Regions from separate parts of the Homo sapiens genome. Here all the other regions are linked to region 1. The links are contacts of gene promoters, found by promoter capture Hi-C in human tissues and cell types (Jung and others, 2019). All regions are on one chromosome and are shown on one strand. Each heading gives the region's core, a stretch centred on a gene start or on the middle of the fragment in contact. The rest is flanking DNA. Distances are from core to core; before and after follow the strand shown. Region 1 holds the start of NFATC2IP (nuclear factor of activated T cells 2 interacting protein). Region 2 overlaps MVP (major vault protein). Region 3 holds the start of SPN (sialophorin). Region 4 overlaps LOC124903670 (a long non-coding RNA gene).

Region 1 (3,646 bases), core at 483-2,982:
TGAGGCAAGAGAATCCTTTGAACCCTGAAGGTGGAGGTTGCAATGAGCTGAGATCGCACCATTGCACTCCAGCCTGGGCAACAGAGCAAAACTCCGAATCAAGAAAAAGAAAAAAATAAAATAAATAGTCGGGCGCAGTGGCTCACGCCTGTAATCCCAGCACTTTGGGAGGCCAAGGCGGGGGCGGAGGGGGGTGGATCACCTGAGGTCAGGAGTTCAAGACCAGCCTGACCAACATGGTGAGACCCCATCTCCACTAAAAATACAAAATTAGCTGGGCATGGTAGTGCACGCCTGTAATCAATCCCAGCTACTTGGAGACTGAGGCACGAGAATTGCTTGAATCTGGGAGGCAGAGGTTGCAGTGAACCGAGATCGAGCCATTGCACTCCAGCCTGGGCAATAAGAGCGAAACTCCATCTCAAAATAAATAAATAAATAAAATTAAATAAATGAATAAAATAAAATTTAAAAATAAATAAATACATAAGATTTTTTTTTGAGATGGAGTCTCACTCTGTTGCCCAGGCTGGAGTGCAGTGGTACAATCTTGGCTCAGTGCAACCTCTGCCTCCTGGGTTCCAGCGATTCTCCTGCCTCAGCCTCCCGAGTAGCTGAGATTATAGGCGCCTGCCACTACGCCTGTCTAATTTTTGTATTTTAGTAGAGACAGGGTTTTACCATGTTGGTCAGGCTGGTCTCGAACTCCTGACCTCAGGTGATCTGCCCACCTCGGCCTCCCAAAGTGCTGGATTATAGGCGTGAGCCACCACGCCCAGCCTTATTATTTCTATCTTTCTTTCTTTTTTTGAGAGAGAGTCTCGCTCTGTCGGCCAGGCTGGAGTGCAGCGGCAGGATCTGGCTCACTGTAACCTCTGCCTCCCGGGCTCAAGCAATTCTCCTGCCTCAGCCTCCTGAGTAGCTGGGATTACAGGCGCACGCCACCACGCCCGCCTAATTTTTGTATTTTTAGTAGAGACGGGGTTTCACCGTGTTGGCCAGGCTGGTCTTGAACTTCTGACCTCGTGATTCGCCTGCCTCGGCCTCCCAAAGTGCTGGGATTACAGGCGTGAGCCACCGCGCGCGGCCAGCCTTATTATTTCTTTAAAGCATTTTTGAGACAGGGTCTCGCCCTGTCACCCAGGCTGGGGTGCAGTGGTGCGATCTCCGCCTCCCGGGCTCCAGCGAAACTCCCACCTCAGCCTCCTGAGTAGTTGGGACCACAGAGGGGTGCCACCACGCCCGGGTAATTTTTGCATTCTTAGTAGAGACGCGGTTTCGCCACATTGGCCAGGCTGGTCTCAAACTCCTGAGCTCAACCAATCTGCCCGCCTCAGCCTTTCAAAGTGCCAGGATTACGGGCGTGAGGCACCGCGCCTGGTTAAATCCGCGGTTTCCACAGGGAATTCCAGGCCCGCCTTCCTTCTCCCGGAAACCTTACCGCTCGAGGACTACATTTCCCAGGATGCCCTGCGACTAACCAAGCCGGAAGACGGTTGTCTTGGTTGGGCGGGTCCGGGAGAGGCTCGTCTGTGGAGAGGTGGCCCAGCCAATGGGTGAGGCCGACTGAATCGAAAGCTACGGTGATTGTGCCGAGGTGATTGGAATCTTTGGCGCCTTGGTTTCAGAGGTGGGCGCATGATGAGCGGGTACAGAGACCAATGAAAAGGCGGGAAGGCGGATCCCGCGCGTGGGGCGCGAAGAGTTGCTGACGAGCAGGCTGTTTGTCCAATGCAAGGCGAAAGTCGCTGAAGGGGGCGGGGCGAGGCGAGAGGAGGCGGGCGTGTGTTGTGGAGGAAAGTGTGCCATGGCGGAGCCTGTGGGGAAGCGGGGCCGCTGGTCCGGAGGTAGCGGTGCCGGCCGAGGGGGTCGGGGCGGCTGGGGCGGTCGGGGCCGGCGTCCTCGGGCCCAGCGGTCTCCATCCCGGGGCACGCTGGACGTAGTGTCTGTGGACTTGGTCACCGACAGCGATGAGGAAATTCTGGAGGTCGCCACCGCTCGCGGTGCCGCGGACGAGGTTGAGGTGGAGCCCCCGGAGCCCCCGGGGCCGGTCGCGTCCCGGGATAACAGCAACAGTGACAGCGAAGGGGAGGACAGGCGGCCCGCAGGACCCCCGCGGGAGCCGGTCAGGCGGCGGCGGCGGCTGGTGCTGGATCCGGGGGAGGCGCCGCTGGTTCCGGTGTACTCGGGGAAGGTGCGCCCGGTCCCGGGGAGGGGACCGGCGGAAGGGCCAAGGGCTTGGCCTCCAGGGAGGGGCCGGCGTTCGGGGAGGGTAGGGCTATAGGGGTGTTGAGGCTGGCGTTCTGGGGCTGGTCCTCGGGCGTTAGGGTGTTGGAGGCAGGGAGAGGCAGGGCTCCGGGACTTTCTGCAGACTGGGGTGGTGAAGGAGGGTGGGATGCGTTGGAAGTTTAGGATTCCTAGGAGCTAGAGTCTTGGGGGCACAGGGAGGCTGAAGAGCTGGGATTCCTGAGATTTTGGAGAGGGACTGGGAGGACCTGGGGCCGTTGGATTTTGAGGTTGGGGTCCATGGCAAATGAAGCCAGGGAGCTGCAGTATTGGGGGTTGGGGTCCATGCGGGTTCAGAGAGGACTGGGCGGCTCCAGAGGCTGGGGTCCCCCGATGGTCGTGTGAGCAATGGGCTGAGAGTCCCTAAGAGTCAGGGGTAGAGGGGCGGCTAGTAACCTAGTTAAAAAGGGCAAGGAAGCATACATTTCAGAGTGTCTTAGGCAGATGGAGGAAAGGGTGAAGGGTACTTCCATTCTGAATCCTGGGGAAGCTGGACTTCTAGGTTGCCAGGAGAGGGCCAAGGTGTCCACGATCTTAGGGAGGATTTGGGAGCTGGGTGTCAGGGAAGAATTACCCCCAATTTTTTCTTTCGGTAGGGGAAGGACTTGGGCCTGACCCCTCTCCCTTCTTTGTCTTTGCAGGTTAAAAGCAGCCTTCGCCTTATCCCAGATGATCTATCCCTCCTGAAACTCTACCCTCCAGGGGATGAGGAAGGTAAGGGAGGGCCTCCAGGGAGAGGCACGCAGCCGCTGGCTTCTCTTAAGAGAATTCCTGGGGTTTATATTCCTGCAGTCAGTTGTCTCCTGAGGCTCAAGGGAAGAGCGTGGGAGAGGGGACTCCTGCATCCCAGCCACAGGAGCTGGATTGTTAACAAGCATAGAATGTATTAATGTATACATTTCTGGTGCCACCTGAAGAGATGCTGATTCTGTAGTCCTGGGCGGGGCAGGAGGCGGTAAGGTGTTGAGAATCTGTGACATCTTGTTACATCTGCAGCAAGTTCTTTGGGAACACTGGAGCCAGCAGGGTGTTCTCTGAATCTTATCAGGGATGCCCTGTCTTTGTCCTCCCCCACTGATGCATTTTTTGCAAACAACTCAAGGGCGGGGAATAGGAATCTAGTCTAATAAGGAAATAATCCAGTGGGCAAATGGAGACCTTGGACCAAGACTCTTGTACCATGAGGGAGTACAGTGGGGTGATTAAAAGCAAACAGGAGCCATCTGGCCTGGGTTTGAATCTCAGTTCTCTCTTTTTTTTTTTTTTTTTTAGACAGAGTTTCGCTTTTGTTGCCCAAGCTGGAGTGCAATGGCACGATCTCGGCTCGCTGCAACCTCCACCTCCTGGGTTCAAGCGATTC
Region 2 (3,646 bases), core at 759-3,258, 890 kb after region 1:
AAAAAAAACAAAGCCGGTCGGGTGCAGTGGCTCATGCCTGTAATCCTAGCATTTTGGGAGGCTGAGGTGGGAGGATCACCTGAGGTCAGGAGTTCAAGACAAACCTGGCCAACATGGCGAAACCCCATCTCTACTAAAAATACAAAAATTAGCTGGGCATGGTGTCACCCACCTGTAATCCCAGCTGTACTCAGGAGGCTGAGGCAGGAGAATCGCTTGAACCTAGGAGGCGGAAGTTGCAGTGAGCTGAGATCGCACCTTTGCACTCTAGCCTGGGCAACAAGAGAGAGACTCCGATTTAAAAAAAAAAAAAAACAATCCCTGGATTGGTAGAAATTGTCTCTGAGATCTGGGAGCATTGGGAGCATTTGGTGGCCAATGGGGCTCGCAGATCCCCTGAAGTTGGAGGCAGGTCACTCAAATACCCAACATGTTGCTCTGCAGACAGCCCTGCACCTCCGGGCTCGGCGGAACTTCCGGGACTTCAGGGGAGTGTCCCGCCGCACTGGGGAGGAGTGGCTGGTAACAGTGCAGGACACAGAGGCCCACGTGCCAGATGTCCACGAGGAGGTGCTGGGGGTTGTGCCCATCACCACCCTGGGCCCCCACAACTACTGCGTGATTCTCGACCCTGTCGGACCGGATGGCAAGAATCAGCTGGGGCAGAAGCGCGTGGTCAAGGTGAGGTCCCTACACCCCCACAGAGGACTGCCCTGGGAGATGTATGTCCTCTAGTGGCATGAGGCCCTCTGCCTTCTCTCCTCCAGACGCACGTTCTAGGAACACCTTCTGTGCCTTTGCATGCTTAGTTCTTACACACCTGAGACACTGGCCCATTTGATTCCTGGCAGCCTCTGACTTACCCCTCAGACCTGAAGTTAATTCCCCTTCTGGGAAGGCCTCCTGGCTACCCGCTGCCTGAGACTCTGAAACTCTGATACAGTCATGCGCCACTTAATGATGGGGATACATTCTGAGAAATAGTCCTTAGATGATTTTGTCTTTGTGCAAAAGAGTGCACTTATGCAAACCTAGATGGCACCTAGTCTAGATGGCGTAGCCTGCCCCTAGGCTGCCAACCTGTGCAGCATGTGACTGTCCTGAATACTGCAGGCAGCTGAACACAATGGCAAGTACTTGTGTATCTAGCCATAGAAAAGGTAAGGTAAAAATACAATATAAAAGCTTCGTTATAGGCCAGCACAGTGGCTCATACGTGTAATCCCAGCACTTTGGGAGGCCGAGGCAGGTGGATCACTTGAGGTCAGGAGTTCGAGACTAGCCTGGCCAACGTGGGGAAACCCTGTCTCTACTAAAAATACAAAAATTAGCCAGGTGTGGTGGCACACACCTGTAATTCCAGTTACTCGGGAGGCTGAGGCACGAGAATCACTTGAACCCTGGAGATCAAGCCTGTGGTGAGCCGAGATCGTGCCACTGCACTCTAGCCTGGGCGATAGAGTGAGACTCTCAGAAAAAAAAAAAATCTCCATTATAATCTTACGGGACCACCATGTGCAGTCTGTAATGGACTGAACTATCATGCAGTGACTATATTTCACATCTTTAATATCCTGGTGTTCACTTTGCTTTGTCATCTTTTGTAAAATAAACCTCTTGGTTTACCCTCTCCCACCCCCTACTTCATCCCCTCTCTGAACTATATGTGGGAATACCAGCAGTTGCCAAACTCATTCTGTAAAGGGGGCTGGATGGTAGATACTCCAGGCTCCGTGAGTCATTGTTTCTGTGGAAGTTCTTCAACTCTGCTGTTATGTCAGGAAAGCAGCTTGGGCACTACGTAAACAAGTGAGTACTGCCATGCTCCTGGAATAGTTTATCTGCAAAAACAGGAGGCAGAAAAAGTAGAAATAGGCCAGGCATGGTGGCTTACATGTGTAATCCCAGCACTTTACGAGTCCAAAGCGGGTGGATCGCTTGAGGTCAGGAGTTAGAAACCATCCTGGCCAACATGGCAAAACCCTTTCTCTACTAAAAATACAAAAAAATTAGCTGGGCATGGTGTCAGGCACCTGTAATCCCAGCTTCTCTGGAGGCTGAGGCAGGAGAATTGCTTGAACCCGGGAGGCGGAGGTTGCAGTGAGCCGAGATCACACCACTGCACTCCAGCCTGGGTGACAGAGCAAGACTGTCTCAAAAAAAAAAAAAAATTAGAAATAACCCAAATGTACATATATAATGAATGGATAAAAAATTGTAGCATATCCATACAATGGAATATCATTCAGCCATAAGAAAGAAATGGCAGGCCAGGCGCAACAGCTCATGACTATAATCCCAGTGCTTTGGGAGGCCGAGGCAGGAGGATTGCTTGAAGCCAGGAGTTTGAGACCAGCCTGGGTAACATAGTGAGACCCCATTTTTACAAAAACTTTTAAAAATTGACCAGGCATGGTGGCACACCTGTAGTCCCAGCTATTTGGGAGGCTAAAGTGGGAAAATCGCTTGACCCCAGGAAGTGGAGTGTATAGTGAGCTATGATTGTGCCACTGTACTCCAGCCTGAGGCAGTAGAGTGAGATCCTGTCTCTAGGAAAAACAAAAAATAATGACATACGTGCTACAACATGGATAAAATTGAAAATGTTATGCTAAGTGAAAGAAGCCAGCTGGACGCAGTGGCTCACGCCTGTAATCCTAACACTTTAGGAGGCTGAGGTGGGCACATCACCTGAGGTCAGGAGTTCAAGACCAGCCTGGCCAACATGGTGAAGCCCCGTCTCTGTTAAAATACAAAAATTAGCTAGCATGATGGCGGGTGCCTGTAATCCCAGCTACTGCTCGGGAGGCTGAGACAGGAGAATCTCTTGAACCTGGAAGACAGTAGTTGCAGTGAGCCGAGATCCCACCACTGCACTCCAGCCTGGGCTGCTGAGCCGAGACTCCATCTCAAAAAAAGAAAAAGAAAAAAGCCAGACATCAAAGACCACATATTGCATGATTCCATTTATGTGAAATGTCCAGAATAGGTAAACACATAAAGAAAATAGACTAGTGGTGGGTGGGGTAGGTGGGGAGTGGCAGTAACTTCTAGGTACAGGATTTCTTTTCAGGGTGATGACGAAAATACTCTAGACTTAACATAGCAGTGATGGTTGGACAACTTTGAGTATACTAAAACAACTGAATTGTGAATTGTATACTCTAGATGGGAAAATTTCATATGTGGATTATATCTCAAAATTTTTTTAAGAAACAGGCGGTGCTGGGCGTGGTGGCTCACATCTATAATCCCAGCACTTTGGAAAGCTGAGGTGGGTAGATCGCTTGAGTCTAGGACTTTGAGACCAGCTTAGGCAGCATGGCAACACCCCATCATCTACGAAGCACACAAAAATTAGCTGGGTGTGGTGATGCGCATCTGTAGTCCCAGCTCCTTGGGAGGCTGAGGTGGGAGGATTGCTTGAGCCTGGAAGGTTGAGGCTGCAGAGAGCTGAGATCATGCCACTGCACTATCCAGCCTGGGCAAGAGAGGAAGACTATCTCAAAAAAAAAAAAAAAAAAAAAAAAAGGCAGAATCCAGATTTGGCCTGAAAACCAGAGTTTGTCAAGCCCTAGGTTACACCATCTCTAGAAAACAAAGCCTGGGAGAAAGAAGAAAAAACAGGTTGATTTTTAATGGTTTA
Region 3 (3,646 bases), core at 694-3,193, 710 kb after region 1:
AAGGTGGCGGTCCTAGGGCATTGGAGAAGTTATGTGCTTGTTCAAGGTCATGCAGCTGGAAGATGGTGGTGGTAGGACAGGAAGTCTGTAGGGCCTGATTCTGCAGCCCTCTAGTCTATACTCCTTTGCTCCTGTGTCCCTCATCCCCCCTGCAGAATGGGCACCCCGTTACCTTTCTGAGCCACTGTGCGCAGAAAAGAGAGCATGTTGGCCAGGCTGGTCTCGAACTCCTGACCTCAAGTGATCAGCCTGCCTTAGCCTCCCAAAGTCCTGGGATTACAGGCGTGAACCACCACGCTCAGCCTCTGAATACTTTGTACTCAAGCCATTTTTCAGTGCTGTGTTTGCAGTGAGCACACCCGAGGGATGAAGACACGTCTCCCTGTGGGAACCTGGGCTTACCAGGGCCCCTAGAGGAGGGGAATCTCTCAAGCTCAGAGCTCTATGGCTGCGGTGCAGGCCCACTGTGTGCATGGTGTCAGTCTGGGCCCTTCCATGTTGCCCCCGTGGGACTTGGGGTAAGGGGAACTGATGCAAACATCACGCTGCTGTTGCTTGGTGTGAGCAATTAATTCCTGTGGCTCTCACCCAGGAGTCTCATGTCTTTGGGTCAGACAAACTCATCAGCTTGTAGAAATGGCACAGTCCCACGGGCCTGTTAGAATCTTCTATTGTGCACATGTTGCTCTTAAAATATACAAATCAGTTTTGATTTTAAAAAATTATTTATTTTTTTAGTGATAGGAGTTTTGCTACGTTGCCCAGGCTGGTTTCAAACTCTTGGGCTCAGGAGGTCCTCCCACTTTGGCCTGGACTGCCAGCATAATGTATCACCACACCCGGGACTGATTTTCGTTTTTCAAGAACAAAAACCAAAAACATACACAAACCGAGAGTCAAAGCTTGCTAATTAGAGGAAAGTCAGGAAATGGGAACCATTCAAAGAAGAAAATACCCCCACCTCCTACTCTCACCTATCCAAAGACAATTAGGTGAATCCCTTAGTAGATATCTTTCCAGACGGTTTTCCATATAGATTCCCATATCTGGCCAGGCGCGGTGGCTCACACCTGTAATCCTAGCGCTTGGGGAGGCTGAGGCGGATGGACCACCTGAGGTCAGGAGTTCGAGACCAGCCTGACCAACATGGAGAAACCTCGTCTCTACGAAAAATACAAAATTAGCCGGGCACAGTGGTGCAAGCCTGTAATCCCAGCTACTCAGGAGGCCGAGGCAGGAGAATTGCTTGAACCTAGGAGGCAGACATTGTGCTGAGCCGAGCCAAGATCATGCCATTGCACTAAACTCCGCCTTAAAAAAAAAAAAAAAGATTCCCACATCTTTACTAGTTTGCAGAAATAAGATCCTAGCATATGCAGTGTGTAGGAACCACCTTGGTTTAGCCACGTCTCTGTGACTGGGGGCCACTGTGGTGACCCCCAGCTCCCCGGACAGAGTCAAGAGCTCACCAGCCTGCAAAGGTTTTCACGGCCCCCAGCCAGACTCGGGGGCTTCCTCTTGCCCTGCTACTTCCTGGGAGCTCTGAGGGCAGGAAATGGCGCCACTCAGCTCCTGGCCTAACAGCTTGGGGACCACAAATGCAAAGGAAACCACCCTCCCCTCCCACCTCCTCCTCTGCACCCTTGAGTTCTCAGGCTCACATTCCCACCACCCACCTCTGAGCCCAGCCCTCCCTAGCATCACCACTTCCATCCCATTCCTCAGCCAAGAGCCAGGAATCCTGATTCCAGATCCCACGCTTCCCTGCCTCCCTCAGGTGAGCCCCAGACCCCCAGGCACCCCGCTGGCCCCTGAAGGAGCAGGTGATGGTGCTGTCTTCGCCCAGCAGCTGTGGGAGCAGGCGGGTGGGGCAGGATGGAGGGGTGGGTGGGGTGGGTGGAGCCAGGGCCCACTTCCTTTCCCCTTGGGGCCCTGTCCTTCCCAGTCTTGCCCCAGCCTCGGGAGGTGGTGGAGTGACCTGGCCCCAGTGCTGCGTCCTTATCAGCCGAGCCGGTAAGAGGGTGAGACTTGGTGGGGTAGGGGCCTCAGTGGGCCTGGGAATGTGCCTGTGGCTTGAAAAGACTCTGACAGGTTATGATGGGAAGAGATTGGGAGCCATTGGGCTGCACAGGGTCAGGGAAGGCCAGGAGGGGCTGGTCACTGCTGGAATCTAAGCTGCTGAGGCTGGAGGGAGCCTCAGGATGGGGCTGATGGGGGAGCTGCCAGCATCTGTTCCTCTGTCATTTCTGATAACAGTAAAAGCCAGCATGGAAAAAACCGTTAAACCGCAGGTTGGGCCTGGCCGTTGGCAGGGAAGTGGGCAGAGGGGAGGCCCGGCCAGGTCCTCCGGCAACTCCCGCGTGTTCTGCTTCTCCGGCTGCCCACCTGCAGGTCCCAGCTCTTGCTCCTGCCTGTTTGCCTGGAAATGGCCACGCTTCTCCTTCTCCTTGGGGTGCTGGTGGTAAGCCCAGACGCTCTGGGGAGCACAACAGCAGTGCAGACACCCACCTCCGGAGAGCCTTTGGTCTCTACTAGCGAGCCCCTGAGCTCAAAGATGTACACCACTTCAATAACAAGTGACCCTAAGGCCGACAGCACTGGGGACCAGACCTCAGCCCTACCTCCCTCAACTTCCATCAATGAGGGATCCCCTCTTTGGACTTCCATTGGTGCCAGCACTGGTTCCCCTTTACCTGAGCCAACAACCTACCAGGAAGTTTCCATCAAGATGTCATCAGTGCCCCAGGAAACCCCTCATGCAACCAGTCATCCTGCTGTTCCCATAACAGCAAACTCTCTAGGATCCCACACCGTGACAGGTGGAACCATAACAACGAACTCTCCAGAAACCTCCAGTAGGACCAGTGGAGCCCCTGTTACCACGGCAGCTAGCTCTCTGGAGACCTCCAGAGGCACCTCTGGACCCCCTCTTACCATGGCAACTGTCTCTCTGGAGACTTCCAAAGGCACCTCTGGACCCCCTGTTACCATGGCAACTGACTCTCTGGAGACCTCCACTGGGACCACTGGACCCCCTGTTACCATGACAACTGGCTCTCTGGAGCCCTCCAGCGGGGCCAGTGGACCCCAGGTCTCTAGCGTAAAACTATCTACAATGATGTCTCCAACGACCTCCACCAACGCAAGCACTGTGCCCTTCCGGAACCCAGATGAGAACTCACGAGGCATGCTGCCAGTGGCTGTGCTTGTGGCCCTGCTGGCGGTCATAGTCCTCGTGGCTCTGCTCCTGCTGTGGCGCCGGCGGCAGAAGCGGCGGACTGGGGCCCTCGTGCTGAGCAGAGGCGGCAAGCGTAACGGGGTGGTGGACGCCTGGGCTGGGCCAGCCCAGGTCCCTGAGGAGGGGGCCGTGACAGTGACCGTGGGAGGGTCCGGGGGCGACAAGGGCTCTGGGTTCCCCGATGGGGAGGGGTCTAGCCGTCGGCCCACGCTCACCACTTTCTTTGGCAGACGGAAGTCTCGCCAGGGCTCCCTGGCGATGGAGGAGCTGAAGTCTGGGTCAGGCCCCAGCCTCAAAGGGGAGGAGGAGCCACTGGTGGCCAGTGAGGATGGGGCTGTGGACGCCCCAGCTCCTGATGAGCCCGAAGGGGGAGACGGGGCTGCCCCTTAAGTGTCGGTGAATAGTGAG
Region 4 (3,646 bases), core at 382-2,881, 660 kb before region 1:
CTTCTCATCACTTTTATTTTTTGTAGAGACAGGATCCCACTATGTTGCCCAGGCTGGTATCGAACTCCTGGGCTCAAGCAGATGCTCCTGTCTCAGCCTCCCAAAGTGTTGGCGCGAGCCGCCACATGCAGACCTGCAGCTGTTCTTCTTGTACGGGGTTGGCACACTTTCAGCTGCAAAAAAGCCAGAATTCCCAACTCAAAGTGGCTCCAAGTTCAAGCGGCTCAGCAGCTCCGTGATGTCACAAAGAAGCAGGTTCTTTCCCTGGGCACCGTCACACTGTGTTTCCCCTCATCAGTGGCTTCCTGCTGGCCATGGTCACAGAGTTGTATTTCGGCAGTGGAGAGCTCATCAGTACTTGTGCTGGGGCACTGTTTCTCACTGCAGAATGTACACTCCAAAAAGGGATGGAGAGATTCCAGGATCCATCACCCACTCCAGTGCTGCACGTCCCGGGCACCTGTGCCATCTTCCATCCGATCCATCTTGGGTTCTGTTGGACCTCTTGGTTTTCCTATCAGCAATAACTTGGCCTGTGTCTTCCAGTGGTCCCAGGGAGGAGGTTCTCCACTACAAAAGACCATTGTGCCTGGCACAGTGGCTCACACTTGTAGTCCCAGCTACTCAGGATGCTGAGGCGGGAGGATCTCTTGAGCCCAGGAGTTCAGAACCAACCTGGGCAATAGAGCGAGACCCCTTCTGAAAAAATAAAAAAATCACAGGCCAGGCACAGTGGCTCACGCCTGTAATCCCAGCACTTTGGGAGGCCAAGGCTGGTGGATCACCTGAGGTCAGGAGTTCGAGACCAGCCTGGCCAACATGGTGAAACCCCATCTCTACTAAAAATATGAAAATTAGCCAGGCATGCTGGCACGCCCCTTTAATCCCAGCTACTTGGGAGGCTGAGGCAGAGGAATCACTTGAACCCAAGAGATGGAGGTTGCCAAGATCACGCCACTGTACTCCAGCCTGGGCGACAAGGTGAGACTCCATCTCAACAACAACATCAACAAATCATAAATGTGGACCAACAAGCCAGGAATGCCTTCTCTCTGTCATGACTGGAGACACAAGGAATCAAGAGCATCACAGGACATGCTGGGGAAATCCCCAAATGCCATCAGTTTCCCAAAGCCTGGAGTCTATCAGTATGGCCAACTGAACACAGTGGCTCATGCCTGTAATCCCAGCACTTTGGGAGGCCAAGGCAGGCAGATCACCTGAGGTCAGGATGGCCAACATGGTACAACCCTGTCGCTACTAAAAATACAAAAATTGCTGGGCGTGGTGGCAGGAGCCTGTAGTACCAGCTACCCGGGAGGCTGAGGCAGGAGAATTGCTTGAAGCCGAGAGGTGGAGGTTGCAGTGAGCCGAGATCGCATCATTGCATTCCAGCCTGGGGGAGAAGAGCAAGACTACATCTCAAGAAATAAATAAATAAATAAAACTAAATAAATAAATAAAAATTAAATTAAAAAAAGAAAAGAGACTGGACTAGGTAGCTCACGCCTGTCATCCCAGCACTTTGGGAGGCCGAGGTGGGCAGATCACCCAAAGTCAGGAGTTTGAGACCAGCCTGACCAATATGGTGAAACCCCATCTCTACTAAAAATACAAAAAAAAAAAAATTAGCTGGGCATGGTGGCACGTGCCTGTAATCCCAGCCACTTGGGAGGCTGAGGCAAGAGAACTGCTCGAACCTGGGAGGCGGAGGCTGCAGTGAGCCGAGATTGTGCCATTGCTCTCCAGCCTGGGTGACAGAGCAAGACTCCATCTCAAAAAAAAAAAAAAAAGAAGAAAGAAGGAAAATAAAATCATGGCTAAGTTTTTTCTTTGTGTTCCGCTATCCAAATTATACCCATCAAGACCCTCTCTGGAGAGGTGGCACCTTTGAGCTGGCAAGAGTGGCTTATCCCTAGGCGTCAGGGACAAAGGACTGCACCATTGCAGGCTGCTACTTCTTTTTTTGTTTTTGTTTGTTTGTTTTTGGTTTTGTTTGCTTTGTTTTGAAAGACAGAGTTTCACTCCGTTGCTCAGACTGGAGCGCAATGGCACAATCTTGGCTCATGGCAACCTCTGCCTCTCCAGTTCAAGTGATTCTTGGGCCTCAGCTTCCCGAGTAGCTGAGACTACAGGTGCGTGCCACCATGCCCAGCTAATTTTTGTATTTTTAGTAGAGATGGGGTTTCGCCATGTTGGCCCAGGCTGGTCTTGAACTCCCAAACTCAGGTGATCTGCCCACCTTGGCCTCCCAAAGTCACCACTTCTGTGCCTCTCTTCAGATGTGTTGTGTTGGTTCCATCCTCTGAGAAGCAGGCAAGGTGGGCCAGATGTGCAAATGATTTATTGAGGAAAACCCTTGGGAGGGACCAAGAAGGAGGGAGGAAGAGGAAGCTGGGAAGATCATCAGACTGTACTAGATCTAACACGTGGAAAAGAGAGACAGAAGGAAGGATGATGGGAGAGGAAGAGTCTTCAACTGCAGTGCAGTGAGAAAGTTTTTACAAAGTCAAGGGGGAGTCCTTGATCCAAAGCTGCCTGTTCGAGGAGTCCTGTGTCTCCACGAACAGACGCGCCTTAGTTCTTTGGCTGGGATCAGCTCGTGGGAAGCAAACCAGAGCCTTCCTGTGTGAACCACAGATGGGTTTCACAGCTGCTGCCCTTGGTCAATGACTTTTCCTGAAGTCAGAGGTCTGAATGGCACATTTTCAGGGCCGTCACCTTCCATCCCTTGCACTACTCAGCTCTACCATGGATCCTGTGAGCCTCTCTTTCTATGGGAAAACTTTGAAGAGGGAGATTAGTGGAACATGCTAGAGCCCCCGCCTCCTTGCTGCAGTTATCGAGAGGCCATAACCAGCGCTTGTTCTTTCTTTCTTCACTATCCATTCTAAATTATCCACACTCTCCACCGTCGCCTTGGCAGGCCTTGGTGGGTTACCTGGTGATGTGACCCGACCCTTCAGTCCTGAGGGACCTAAATTATTGGTTATTGTAACCCATGGATCACTGGATTCCCATATATTCCTCCTTGTCCTCCCACTGTAAAAGCAGCCCTGCCCTCTCTGCTGACCAGGGTCAGTTAGTGCAGCCATGCTGGTGCCCTCTCTTCTCACCTGCTGGTCCCAGAACACATGGAGTCCAAAGTTTCCCAGCCCCGGCCACAGCTTAAATTTAATGGGACCCATGCTGTGTCCCCTGGCTAGAGCATACCCTCTTTGGGGACCAGGACTTCCCTCCCTGTAGAACTGAGAGGGAGTCGGGAGGGGGACTTAATTACCCACAATGCATGCCAGCAAACCTTTACTAACTGCACTATGGGTAATCAAAGCCCCAGATAAGGAATCAGGGAAGGTTTCCGCAGAAGGTGGCCTTGAACTGGGCAACCCTTGATTAACTGTGGCTAGGGGCACTGCAAAGCTTGATTTGACTCCTCCCCTCTCTAGGTCTGTTTCTTCCTCTGCAAAAAGAGGAAAGTGCTCTCTAAGTGCTAACATTCTGAGACTCAGCTTTTAGACACAGAATGTTTTCTTCCTGCTTTCTCCCTCTCCAGCCCCCTCTTCTGCACACCCAATAACTCAAATCCCTCTATTAGTTTATTTACGGCACTAAGGCCTTGGAGAGGATTAGAACAAAGTTAGAATGA

Evidence for each region. Contacts are between HindIII fragments. The study calls those that stand out against the background at their distance.
Region 2: a contact is called between a fragment that was not itself captured here and the fragment with the promoter of NFATC2IP in region 1, in 1 of the 25 tissues and cell types used here (dorsolateral prefrontal cortex).
Region 3: a contact is called between the fragment with the promoter of SPN here and the fragment with the promoter of NFATC2IP in region 1, in 2 of the 25 tissues and cell types used here (dorsolateral prefrontal cortex and lymphoblastoid cells).
Region 4: a fragment that was not itself captured here is called in contact with the fragment with the promoter of NFATC2IP in region 1 in 1 of the 25 tissues and cell types used here (dorsolateral prefrontal cortex).

What each region holds. Positions count from the first base shown.
Region 1 is chr16:28,949,205-28,952,850 of GRCh38, forward strand. It overlaps NFATC2IP (nuclear factor of activated T cells 2 interacting protein), which reads left to right and starts at 1,733. Exons shown (of 8, transcript NM_032815.4): 1 at 1,733-2,194; 2 at 2,928-3,000. The coding sequence starts at 1,808. RefSeq lists enhancers at 1,055-1,589, 1,609-2,109 and silencers at 1,829-1,928, 2,069-2,188. The HindIII fragment of the contact is 8,980 bases long and covers 1-3,646 here.
Region 2 is chr16:29,836,278-29,839,923 of GRCh38, forward strand. MVP (major vault protein) reads left to right here. Exons shown (of 15, transcript NM_005115.5): 7 at 445-681. Among named protein-coding and RNA genes, the nearest start is that of MVP, 18 kb to the left of the region's middle. The HindIII fragment of the contact is 6,347 bases long and covers 1-3,646 here.
Region 3 is chr16:29,661,304-29,664,949 of GRCh38, forward strand. SPN (sialophorin) reads left to right here and starts at 1,944. Exons shown (of 2, transcript NM_003123.6): 1 at 1,944-2,013; 2 at 2,392-3,646. The coding sequence starts at 2,426. The coding sequence ends at 3,628. RefSeq lists enhancers at 659-708, 1,349-1,428 and silencers at 1,609-1,668, 2,929-3,048. The HindIII fragment of the contact is 34,536 bases long and covers 1-3,646 here.
Region 4 is chr16:28,285,672-28,289,317 of GRCh38, forward strand. It overlaps LOC124903670 (a long non-coding RNA gene), which reads right to left. Exons shown (of 2, transcript XR_007065033.1): 2 at 1-1,396. It also overlaps a transcript of SBK1 not described here. Among named protein-coding and RNA genes, the nearest start is that of SBK1, 5.0 kb to the right of the region's middle. The HindIII fragment of the contact is 6,033 bases long and covers 1-3,646 here.